Linked DNA regions of Homo sapiens: all the other regions are linked to region 1. The links are contacts of gene promoters, found by promoter capture Hi-C in blood cells and fetal thymus (Javierre and others, 2016). All regions are on one chromosome and are shown on one strand. Each heading gives the region's core, a stretch centred on a gene start or on the middle of the fragment in contact. The rest is flanking DNA. Distances are from core to core; before and after follow the strand shown. Region 1 holds the start of NAA15 (N-alpha-acetyltransferase 15, NatA auxiliary subunit). Region 2 overlaps SCOC (short coiled-coil protein). Region 3 holds the start of SLC7A11 (solute carrier family 7 member 11).

What was found. The method cuts DNA at HindIII sites, captures the fragments that hold promoters and counts their contacts. A CHiCAGO score of 5 or more calls a contact.
Region 2: a contact is called between a fragment that was not itself captured here and the fragment with the promoter of NAA15 in region 1, in 5 of 17 cell types (fetal thymus, total CD4 T cells, non-activated CD4 T cells and 2 more). The highest score is 12.0, in fetal thymus.
Region 3: a contact is called between the fragment with the promoter of SLC7A11 here and the fragment with the promoter of NAA15 in region 1, in 1 of 17 cell types (erythroblasts). The highest score is 7.6, in erythroblasts.

The regions. Positions count from the first base shown.
Region 1 is chr4:139,299,433-139,303,553 of GRCh38, forward strand. It overlaps NAA15 (N-alpha-acetyltransferase 15, NatA auxiliary subunit), which reads left to right and starts at 2,073. Exons shown (of 20, transcript NM_057175.5): 1 at 2,073-2,399. The coding sequence starts at 2,346. NDUFC1 (NADH:ubiquinone oxidoreductase subunit C1) reads right to left here and starts at 3,045. Exons shown (of 6, transcript NM_001184989.2): 1 at 2,984-3,045. RefSeq lists enhancers at 1,464-1,583, 2,064-2,123. The HindIII fragment of the contact is 1,328 bases long and covers 1,638-2,965 here.
Region 2 is chr4:140,374,485-140,378,605 of GRCh38, forward strand. All of the region lies in intron 1 of SCOC (short coiled-coil protein), which reads left to right. Among named protein-coding and RNA genes, the nearest start is that of SCOC, 2.9 kb to the left of the region's middle. The HindIII fragment of the contact is 6,823 bases long and covers 1-4,121 here.
Region 3 is chr4:138,240,032-138,244,152 of GRCh38, forward strand. SLC7A11 (solute carrier family 7 member 11) reads right to left here and starts at 2,318. Exons shown (of 12, transcript NM_014331.4): 1 at 1,762-2,318. The coding sequence starts at 2,038. RefSeq lists enhancers at 1,664-2,863, 2,333-2,572. The HindIII fragment of the contact is 788 bases long and covers 1,711-2,498 here.

The DNA of each region.
Region 1 (4,121 bases), core at 823-3,322:
GAGTTAGCATTTGGAACATAGTGACATGCAAGCACATGGGGTAAGATGAATTAACTATCATCAGCAGCAGCAGCGGCAGCATATAGCCTTGGATATGTTAACTTTCTGAAAGCATGGCTGTTACTTACAGTATAACTCAAATGGGATCTCTATTTGTGAAATTGTGGTGATCAGAGTAAATATATATTTTTTTATTCAATTCAGGCTACTGTGTGGTCAGACTGTTATCTGTAGGTGCATTTTAACTAGCAAATGAATCAGTTAAATGTTGAATCAGACTAGTATTTGCCGAGCCTTTAAAATTGCCATTTCTTTGTCATCACCCAAAAAGAATGTAACATTTGCCAAACTCTATTTCTGGCTCATCTAATCAGGTACTCAGGTTCTGGTGGAAGCTACTGATTGTTTCAAAGACCAGAAATTTTCTTCCTCTGAAGGAAAATAGAATATTCTTTACAGGAGAAATTTAGAGAACTATAGCAAATAGTATTGCTGTAGGGATTTTTGGATATGAAGCCAGAAATTTGGATATGAAGCCAGAGATTTGGAAATCCAAGCTAAAACTATCAACTGCATTTAGACTATTTTTTCTGTCTTTCAATAGTTCAGACAGTTGAAAGATCTCTTGGGGCAGTGAATTTTGCAGGTTATTACTAAGTAACAGCTTAAAAATGAATTATAAGCTTGTTCTTAGTTTTATAAAGTTAAGGTTAAAATACTGGCCATATTTCAAACTGAAACATAGTTTCCTGTATATATGATTTTTCTCAAACTTTTGAAGAGAGATCACAGAATTTAAGGAAACTCCAGGATTTGACTGTTAAAAACCTTATTTATGACCCCGGTGAAGGGCGAGGACAATCAATATAGCAGCTACAAAACCCAAGTTTATATTGGGAAACATGTATCTCAACTCACACCTTTCAGGGACAGTTAAGAGAAGTTTGAAAATTAAAATATCTTTGCAAATAAATTTAAAACAGTAAAAAACACGCACATATTGTTTAATAATTCATGATGCAAAGAATGCTACAGAGTGAAATCAGGATTTGGAAAGAGGTAATCAAAAACCAAAGGTTAAAAGTGGCTCATATAACTTGAAAATTTTTAGATCAATGGAATGCCACTTTGAAAAAGTTTTACGGTCAGCTGTTAATGAAATGACTTACATTTTTGGAAGGACTCCTATTCGGTATGTAGTCTGACCTCGCCTACTCGAGTAGTTCCCTCTAGTATCCTTGCCAGTCTTTGGCTTCTAAGATCTGAGAATTTCTGGGGATGGGGAGTTCGAGTCACAATATTAAGAACTAGTTTGAAGCCAGCTCCAGGGTAGTCTGTCTTTAAGTCTCCACTACTCCGCTCCAAGGTGACTCATAAGGTCGGTCCGTCAACTCTGCATTATATGGCCTCAACAACGAAATTAAAACACATACTTTAACCTCCAGAGCCTCCTTTGGCAGTGCAAATATGTCACTTCGGATCTGACTAACTACCTTTCCAGGCTGATCTTAAGCAACATTCACCAAATTACCGATACGACAGCCAGGCCCATTTCATCGGTCAAGCTCTTTCACGATTTCCAGACTCTGTTAAGCCCCTTTCTCCCCAGGGCTGTTAACAAGTCTCCACTGCGGTGAAGCTTTTTTCATTTTCCACTCCGCCTCTGCTCCTTAAATTAGGCATTTCGTCCATAATCAACTACAGCGCTTCTCAAACACCTACACCTGTATTTTAGCACTTTGGGCTCAAACGATGATCACACAGTGTGCGAGACTCTTTCCAAGGAATGAAAGGTCGATCTAGCAGGAAGGCGCCAGAGAGGCTGTTTTTGATGAGGAGGCGGTCTGAACCGTACTTGCCTAGCCTCCCGTAGCTCCGCGGGCGCTTCGAGGGTACCACGCACTGAAATGATGGGCGGGGCCTGCCCCGACCCTCCCGGCCTCCACAGGCAGGCCAGCCTCCAGGTTTCCCGGCAAGCTCCGAAACCCAGAGGAGGTGGGGAAAGGAGGTCACCGCGCCTGCGTGTTAGGAAGCGTGACCCGGGTGGGAAAACCCTCCGCGTCCGCCATTTTGGCTGCCTCTGTCGGTCTGTTCAGTTACCACGTGAACCGCCGACGGAGACCCGTAGTGGGGGAGGCGGCGGCAGCGTTAAGTGAGAAAGGAAAAAAGACAACGAGGAAAAAGGAGGTGTCCGGGTAGGGCAACGCGGCGACACCCGAGGCCTGGTGGTGGCGGCGGATCGAGATATTCAAGGCTGAAGCAGCTACGGAACGGCAGCGGCGGCGGTCGGACAAACTGACTGACCGAGCCGGGTGGTGGCGGGAGCAGCGGGAGCAGCCGGAACGATGCCGGCCGTGAGCCTCCCGCCCAAGGAGAATGCGCTCTTCAAGCGGATCTTGGTAAGTGTGAGGCTCCGGGCAAGCGGTGGGGAGGATTTAGCCGGTAACCGGGCCTGTCACCCCTAACCTCGGCCCGGCGGGCACTGAGCCACTCCCGCCCGGGACCCCGCCTTCATAGCTCTCGTCAGGCCGAATGCATTGCTTTGCTCCCTCTCTGTGGTTCCTACTATGGCCCGCGCGCCAGGGACCACAGGCTTCTTCATTCCATCCCCACGCTTGAGGCCCTGGTTCCGGACTAGGCCCCGACCTCCCGGCTTCTAGACTGCCGGTTCTCATTCTCCCCGATCTGGGGGAGAAGAGGCCCGGCCTTTGGCGGGCAAGTGGGCGACACCGGCAGGAGTCGCGGCCCGGTTGGTGTGGGAACCCTGCTGGCAGGTCGGGGTGGCACCCTTGGAAGGAACAGGTGGTGCGGATGCAGCAGGCTCATTCATTGCCTAAACGCGGTTCTCCCTCCATCATCTGTCCCTCCCTCTTCCTCCTCTCTTGGGATTCACCTGTCTCCGCCCGGCCCGGGGTCACCCAATGACCTGAGAGGAGGGAAAGAAGGAGTTCAGAGAAGGAAAGAAAGCTTTTCAAACGACTACCTCCTTGTAGTCAGTTGCATACTGGAGTCTTCAGCTCCTCTGCCTCCGTTGTTCTCGTTTCTGGAGTAGGGATGAGGCATTTATTTCTTAGTTTCCGAGCGGGAAACAGCCCCACCCCGTCACTCTTCTCGGGAGGTGGGGCCCATTGCGAGGGGGCGGTTCGGTAGGAAGTAAAAAGTTGAGTCTTTAGTTGAAACGTTGCAGACCTAGACTTTTCTTATACACTGAAGTATATTAACACATGCAAAAACTTACCAGAGAAATGAGAATATAAGAACTTTTGAGATGGATTTTGTTGACGCTAGCTCAGACTTATTCCCTACGGTTCAAATGTGTGCAGTTTGTATTTTTTTAAACCATAAATGCATTGATGTTTGCAGGGACTGTTTACATTGTAAAATATGTCCTGTAGCCTTGGAGCTATAATTAACACATTGTAGCACATTTTTTGTTTGGCATTTAGTATGTGGGTTCCCCCTTTCACGCAAACGTTTCCTTATGATAGAATTAACTGTATTTGCCAAATTTAAGACTTTTAAAATTTGGGATGTGTGTGTGAAAGTGTTAGCCTTTTCCCCCGCAGTTATAATTTATTTCACCTGTTTGAAAAGTAGAACAACTCTGGGGATTCAGTTTTTCTAGAAATGAATAATCATCCATTTGAACTAACTTTGATTTTACAAAAGTGTCCATATGCCCTACAGATTTAGTGAATTCATTTTGAAAAACATTAGAAAGTCACATGCAGTGTCGCAAAACTGTTACCTTGAAATTCTTACTGGAATTTTGTTTTGTTTTAAGACTAAGAGTGTAGGTGGAGCTGTAAAATAGTTTTAGGAAAAAAGTTACTTTTAAACCCTTAAAAAGACTAATTGGTGTGCAGGTAGAACTGTAACATAAGTTTAGAATAGCAATTTATCTTTAATCTCTTTTTCACAATTCTTTATTTTGAAAAAAATGAAACTGAAAAGTTGAGAGAACAAGGAACACTCATAAACCTTTACTTATATTTATTTGCCATATATGCTTTCTCTCTCCCTATGTATATGTATATATACATTTGTATAAAAGTAAGTTGTAGATGTAAAATTTATCTCTAGGCTGGGCACGGTGTCTCATGCCTGTAATCCCAGCACTT
Region 2 (4,121 bases), core at 796-3,295, 1.1 Mb after region 1:
GAGAGTATAGCTTCCATTTAAATCCTCATTTGGCCAAACAGTTCCTTGATCTTGTGGAATTTGAAACTGGATTTATTTAACCAGGACAAGTCAAAGCAGAACTTGAACAGATCTGAACAGACATTATATTGAAGTTCCGTAGCTTGAAGGGAATGGAGTTTATTTTCAGTTGCTTAGTAAAGATTCCAGAGGAGTTTGACATCAGTGGTAGCAAAATGTTTGGCAAACTTAAGATTAGGGCCATATTAAAGTTTTTTCCATTGCATAATGGAAAAAGCATGGACTGTGAAGTTAGACCTGGGTTCAAATTCTTGGTAGAGACATTGGCTGTGAAACCTCTGAAACAGCTTTTCTGAAAGATATATAGACTTTCTGAAATTTAGTGTCCATATCTGTAAATTGCAGTTTCCTTCTGTTGATTTGATGAAATAACATATGCAAAGCATTTAGCACATTAATGCACGAAGACATTATTTTAGCAGTCTTAGTAGTTCTCCAGTATGACAGATGGTGAAATCAATTTTAGATGCAGAAAAGTTGAGTGGCTGAAGATGGACGGGTATTAGGAAAAAGTCTCAAAATCTGCAGGCTCAGATGTGACAATAGTTGTGGTGGAATGGTGGAAAAAACACTGGGCATTTGTTGTAGTCTTGGCCCTGTTGCTAACTACTTCTGTGGTCTTCAGTAAGCCATTGTCATCTTTGGCCTTGATTTTGTAAAATGAAGCAGCTGGACCAGATGGTTTTCTTTAAATTCTTTCTGTTGCCCAAATTAGAGCTAAAAGGTAGAGAAGACGATAGCAGACATTTATTGAATACCTACTATGTACTAGGTACTGTTGCCAACACATTGTATCTATCCACTCATTCTCACAACAAACCCATGAGATACGTACGGTTATTATCCACATTTTACAAATGAGGAAACTTAAGGCCGAGGTGTTAACCTTGCCCAGGGTTCCAGAGCTTATAAATTGCAGAGCTAGGATTTGAATCCAGGTAATCTGAATCCATATTGTTAATCATTGTGCCAGGCTGCCTCTTGAGGAGAGTGATATTGTGGATATTGTACACTATTAGAGATAACTGTAAAATAAGATAGGGGCATATTTGGTAAGATGATCGTCTTTGGTCACAGGTGTGTGTGCATGGCAAAAATTATTTAATTAAATGAATCTTGTCCCAATGTTTGCCACATTTCCTGGTTTGTATTCTCTCTATGCGTTCTGCCTCCTGGACTTAAATAATCAAAAAAGTAATTCTAGATTCCCTTCCACTAACCAAGGCTAGATACCCGAATTTACTGTGTTTTTTGAGAAACCTTTGAAAGGTCTGACCTAGCCATACATCAGAGCTGAAGAATCTCAGCGAACCATGTCCATTTCTGGGGTAAGGTGGTTTAGGATAGGCAGAGCAGCCTCAGCGCCCCAAATTCATTTCAGTGTTCCCACGCTTGAGCAGACTTGGTCTTAATTTTCTCGTTTTTCATCAGATTTGCGTTTATATATAGGAGCAGAAGGAGTTGAAAGTGAACTCTTAAGAGCATATTTGACATGGAATTAGATTGATGTTATAGCAACTATAGGTAAAAAAGGATTTTATAGTTGAAAAATTTGAAAAGCTCAGTATTAAGTATCTGTTATGATGTAGTACTGTGTTAATGTAGACTTTGGGCAGTTTGGGGATCAATACTATTTTAAAAGAAAAAATCCATGGCTAAAATACTTTGACATAAAGAACTCAGCAAGTCTTTTGATCCCATATGTCAAACAAATCAGTTTATTGCCCTAAATCTACTGAAAGACTTTGAATATATATTAATACAATAGTAGCATTTTGAGATGGGTCTATTTGATCACATCACAATAAAATACAATTGCTTCTTGTTCTTTTGTCGTGGAAAGGCAGCAGGTAATGCTGTGGTCCACTGTACTAAAGAGTAATGCCCTTATGCGTAGGGCTGCCAGATACAGTGGGCGGTTTTTTCACTGTGCAACACTTGGGATGCAATCTTACGTAGACTGTGGTGTGAATTGTGCTCTCTCGCGTTGTATACCCTTATAGCACTGTTCTTGTGGCACTACTTTTGTGCTCCTGCCTCTACCCTAATCTTGAGTGTAAGAGTAATTTTTCCTTTAATAAGCCCTCTCCACCCTGTTTTTCTGCTTTTTATTTTCTTTCACTTTTTCAGATGAAGTCACACTGTTGCTAAACCATGCATAGGTTTTCTATTGTTTGAATTATATGTGGTCAGAATTTCAGAAACTGGCTTCTTTTTCTTTACCTCTTATATTGGTGAGTTTGGAATACTTGTGTTTTTGCAGACTTTTTGGTTTAATTTAAATATTAGTCTGAAACATAAGCAAAAGAAGACTACCCTATCACTGTATTATATCTGACTTCAAAATCAGCTGTGTCGATTTTCTGATTATCTGTTGCTTTGGCTTGTATATCTTATAACTCTTCTTAGCTATCATGAAAATTCGTTCTAGCTGTAGCCTTAAAATCATTGGATATGAGAAATTTGAAGCACTTTTAATTTATTATTTAGCAAAGACAGATGCCAAATTGCAGCTTACTCTTGCTGAGCACTCCCACGATCACTTTTGCTTTTGGCTGTTGCCTCTCTCATCTTACTCAGACCTCTTTTAGCTGGATCAGTGGTTGAAATGGTATGAAAAGAGAATGACTGTAGTACCTGGTTACAGGTGTGCTTCTCTGTCAGGGAAATGTCAAATCAAGTTTTCACTGACACTCTTCCTCTTCAATTATAGTTAAAGAGACATGTTGATTCAATGGAGAGGAATAGTTTTTGGAGTGTGGTCTTTAAATACTACAGTAGGCTGAATAACTTTTAAAAAAAGAATTGTTGGAAAAATTTTAGTAATCTGAAATGCAGAGAACCTGAGAATTAAATAATGTGAAAAAGAGGTCGGGCAGAGCAACTTTAAATGCGGTTTAGATAAGGGGACAGATGCTAGAAGACTTGGAGTAGGTTTATTCAGCATTATTAAATTAATTGTATACCATTTGTAGTTAATTATTTAATAATGTTATACAAGGGATATTTCATATTTTTTTCTAGACTAGTGAGTGCTATCTAACTTGAACTATAAACTTGAAGTTTATGTATATGTACACTGGGCATTTTAATTTGAAGTTCATGTTAGTATCTAAAGTGTAACAGGATTTATGTAGATGTACACTGGGCATTTTCAAATTTCATGTTAGTATCTGAAGTACAACAAGATTTGTATTAACAGCTGTGAGAGAATGTGTAATACACTGATATCTCTATTGTGATTCTAGTTCTAGTATGTAGATATCCTTATTTAATAGGTCTGCTTTCTACTGTTTAAGATACGGAGGCATAACAATGCCTTGGGCATAGAAGATATTCAGTAAATACTTGTTGAAAGAATAACACTGACAGGTCTAGGTTGCTTCAATGTAGTAGATTAGATTGGTTAACAAATCTGTTTTCAGTAATAATCTGGTGACATTATTTAATATATTTTGAACATATTGAATGAAATGATTGTTAGCAATGGAGCAGAACATGTTTTATAGAAATTTTTTGTTCTAATATTTAGAAGTCTTCATTGTAATAATAAAATGTTAGTATTTATTTACTTATTTACATCCTGATTAGTCTGTTTTGATTTAACCCTGACTAGGAGCTGATGAATGGACATTTTTTCATTTATTCCATATTAATATTTTAGATGGTCTAGTATTTATCTTTTGAATTTTATTTGTAAAAAATTAAACAGTATATGTAAAGCAATACTTTAATGAAGAAGAATATTTGAAACAATTTTATCTTCATCCATACCGTCATCCTTAATATCAGAGCATTTTTTCATTTTCATGTTTTTTATGCATATTTATATATATTTCACATAATTTACATCAGTGAATATACAATTTTATACACATTTTTTCATGTAGTATAGTCATAATTATTTTCAGTAGCCACTCCATTAGAAATTATAACTGTACTCAGGAGGCTGAGGAAAGAGGATTGCTTGGGTCCAGGAGTTTAATACAGACTGGGCAACTTGGCAAGACCCTCATTTCTAAATAAATAAATAAAAATATGTCTTCTTAAAAAGAAAATCA
Region 3 (4,121 bases), core at 1,068-3,567, 1.1 Mb before region 1:
TAATAGTGGCTAAGGGTACTATTAGAGTTTTTCATAATGATATTACTCCAAATTATTTTATAAAGATGGGAAGTAATACTGGGAAATAATGATACACAATTGTTACTGAATATTTAATAAAGCACAAGTTAGTTATAAATAATACCACAAACTCTCTCTAAAAACCCCAAATAATTCCTCTATAAATCTTTCTATACTACTTGTTTTAACAAGTTCTATTTAAAATAACTTCTTCCTAAAAATGGAATTTGAGGACCGGGCGCGGTGGCTCATATCTGTAATCCCAGCACTTTGGGAGACTGAGGTGGGTGGATCACGAGGTCAGGAGATCGAGACCATCCTGGCTAACATGGTGAAACCCCATCTCTACTAAAAAATACGAAAAATAAGCCCAACGTGGTGGCACACACCTGTAGTCCCAGCTACTCGGGAGGCTTAGGCAGGAGAATTGCTTGAACTTGGGAGGCGGAGGTTGCAGTGAGCCGAGATCACACCACTGCACTCCAGCCTGGGCAAAGAGCGAGTCTCTGTCTCAAAAAAAAAAAAAAAATGGAATTTGAGTTCTCTAGATGAGTGTCAAACCAATGATTTAAAACATCACAAGGCCTGAGTAGAAAGAATGAATTGATTGGTACACATGGGAACAGGAGTTAGTACTTGTTAATTAGTCCTAGAGTTAGCGTTAGTACTTGTTAGTTAGTGTTAGTCCCAGAGTTAAGACAAAGAGCAACTTTAAAGTACAGAATCTTTCCCAAGAAGAGTAAATAAATCCTCATAGCATAAATCAAATTTAATGTTTGACAGTTCACCAGTTTTTATCATCTTTACAACAAACTCAGGTAGCTCTCTAGTAATTTGCCTACTCCATAAGGGGGCATTTATTTACCTCTTTACTATTAATTCTCAGATCAATAGAAGAGACATAAACTTTGAAGAAAAATTCATAATTATACTTCTGCCAGTTCCCTTCAGATTAATTTAGTGAACAGGTGGACAAATTCTCTGTGTCCCTGGAGAACAAGTGAAATATAATGAAAAAAACAGATCTGGGCAAGTACAGAAAACTAACGCCCAACTGAAGTTTTAAAACTTATATTGCAAAAGTGTATGGGTATTGAGAAGAGATGAAAGGTTGAAAAGTAATTTGAAATATGCTCAGGCCATTGCAATATACCCCATTATGATAGGGATTGAGTTATGCGCCATCATACATCTCTCCCATGTCAAGGACTTTTGAAAGGATATTAAGAGGTGACAAGCACATGAACTTAAAAAATATTTTTATAAAGACTGCCACCCATTTGTTTGGCTAATAAAAAGTCAGTAAGACTTCTGCTGAACACTCCGTTCTATGTCTAAATAGCCCATGCCAGGTTCCACTTCACAGGTGTCTCATTCAGCATGCCAGCTGCCAGAATGCCCAAGCTAAGTGTACAACTGCCCGGCACAGAAAGTGTGCATGTTTTTTACTGGGTCATGAAAGTTAGCCTTTGCTCTCATCACCACAGAGAAAAGTCAGAAGATAGCCTGTCTTAGTCAGGAAAAGAAAGTACAGCCTGTAGGAAGCAATTTGAGGGTGTTCCAGATCACACCAACAGCGGATGCTGCATCTGGGTAGTTCACGTACCCGAACAAAAATTTTAAAAATTTGGTGTGGCCTTTGCCATCCATTCACTCCTCAAAAACTACCATTTGCTTTCCCAGAAAGCAAGCTTTCCAGCCCCACAGCCACGCCCCCACGAGAGAAAAAGTCGCACTCACCAAATAGTGACAGGACCCCACACACCGTCCAGATGGTCAGAGACATGCCCACGCTGCCCGTGTTCTGGAGCACGCCCTTAGGAGAGATGAAGATTCCTGCTCCAATGATGGTGCCAATGATAATGGAGACTCCCCTCAGTAAAGTGACTTTCCTCTTCAGCTGCACTTTCTCCTGCCCAGGTGGCTCCTTGTTGCCCAGGGAAGGCAGCCTCCCGTTAACATTTCCCTGCAGGTAACCTCCTTTGGAGATGGTGGACACAACAGGCTTTCTGACCATAGTAGGGACACACGGGGGAAAAATAAAACAGAGGGAAAGAAAACAAAACTTTCAACTTTGGTGTCTCTTGGTGTTACTGATCGATGTCTTCCTCTGCTTTCAGACTGTCTCTCTCAGCGCTATAGTGTTCACAGGTGAAAACTCAAAGGTGTGCTTTTTCCTTCACAGCGATCTAATTACTACTCAGAAACACCTGTGTATGCATCGTGCTCTCAATTCTCCACCTCCTCGTTCCACCACTGCTGCTGCTGCTGCTGCTGCCGCCCTATCATTACAAACCAGCTCAGCTTCCTCATGGGCTTGTATTTAAGCGCCTGCCTGTCACACCAACTTACTACAGCTAAATGATGATGCAAATTCTCCAGGTTTGCATCAGCCACATGAGAAGCCTCCAGCATTACTCAGCTCTTTTTTTTAAAAAAAGAAAAAAACAGGAGGAGCTTGTTGCTCAACTGACCTAAGCTTTTTAGAGAACAAAGCACACACTTTAAAGAGATTTTAGCCAATCCAGAAGTAGTAAATTCGGAACAGACCTTCCCAGAGATTTAAAGCAACTCGTAGTGAGCAACAAAAGCTGTTCAAACAAAATGAAACAGGAAATAGTTACTTCATTTTAAGGAGTTTCTTTTTCTTTAATGCGTGTATAAAAACATTTTACATGCGACTGTTTTGTGAGTAGAATGTATCCTAAAGCTACATTGTTTATAACAACACAGTTTGAATTTCATAATTTGTGTAATGCTTTTTATTTTTTTATTTTGAGTTTTTTATAAGGCAATACAGTCAAATCCAATATTTACAAAATTAAAGATTCTACACTTTATACTTCTGTCACATACACACAACTATAAGCCTTCCTCAACATTAAAAGATAAAATTATTTCTTACTACTCATAATAAACCAGTATTTTAAATCACCATCCGAGTGTGACTAATACAAAATTCACCATGACTCCAGAAAATAGTCATTTTCTGATTCTCATTAGCACTAGGTGATTTTTTTGAACTATGTAAAAGATACATATCCTTCATTGTCATGTTGTTCCTTTGAATTACCAAAAAAAATTTCTAAGTTCAAAATTACACAATTACAATTACATAAAAATATGTATATAGCAAAAGCCTGTAAAGGAAAACAGAATGGTAGTTATAGAAAGTAATGATATTATGTATGACTTTTTTCCACATTATATAAACTATTGTTATTATTATAAATTTAAAATGCATTAAAAATGTAAGCTAAATTAAAATATTTACTTTGCAATAGTCAAAAAGGCAAAACATTTTTAAACCCTTCTAACTTTCTCAACCAAGTGTCAAGAAAAAACAAATATGAAAAGAAAAGAAATCCTAGATATCATTTTTGGCTATAGTTACATGTGGTTTTGGATTCAGTGAGAAGAATTGAATGTTATCATTACCCTGAAGCTACCTTTATACGCACCATTAAATAAGCTTCTGAACCTTTGAACAAAAACCACAAACAAAAAGCCTGTGTGCGAGAGGTTGGCAGGGAAAGAAGGGAGTCAAGTATGGTGAGGATGATCAAAGAAAGAAATGAGAAATCGCCATTAGGAAAGTAGCATGGAAAAGGTCAGAACCATTTTCTGTTATGTTGACACCTGAGAAAATGACACCACCTCAATGCTTTGCCATCCAAATAATTGAGGCTACATTTTCTCCTTTTTAAATTATCTATCTAAATTCTATATAATTGGTTTCAGCTACACCAAGTTAAAGTTTTTATAAAACCAAAATAAATACTTTTTCTCAGTTGTTAATGTCTTTCAAAAAACAAAAATGGATCATTTTCCTCATGCAATCCTGCTAAAACTCCCAAAGAAGGAAGCTAAATAGAGATTCTTTTCTTTCCAATTCTCTTCCTCCTCCTACATCTCCTTTCACTCACACAATTTTCCTGATTAATGGACCTAAGGAGCAGCTCTTCTTTCCCAGTAAGAGAAACATATTAGCTCTGAAGAAATATGAGGTAAAAGTAGGACACTAGGAATCTCAGGGAACAGCAACTTTCTCTAATTAACACAGTGTCACACTTTAATTTTAAATTTTGTTATAAATAACT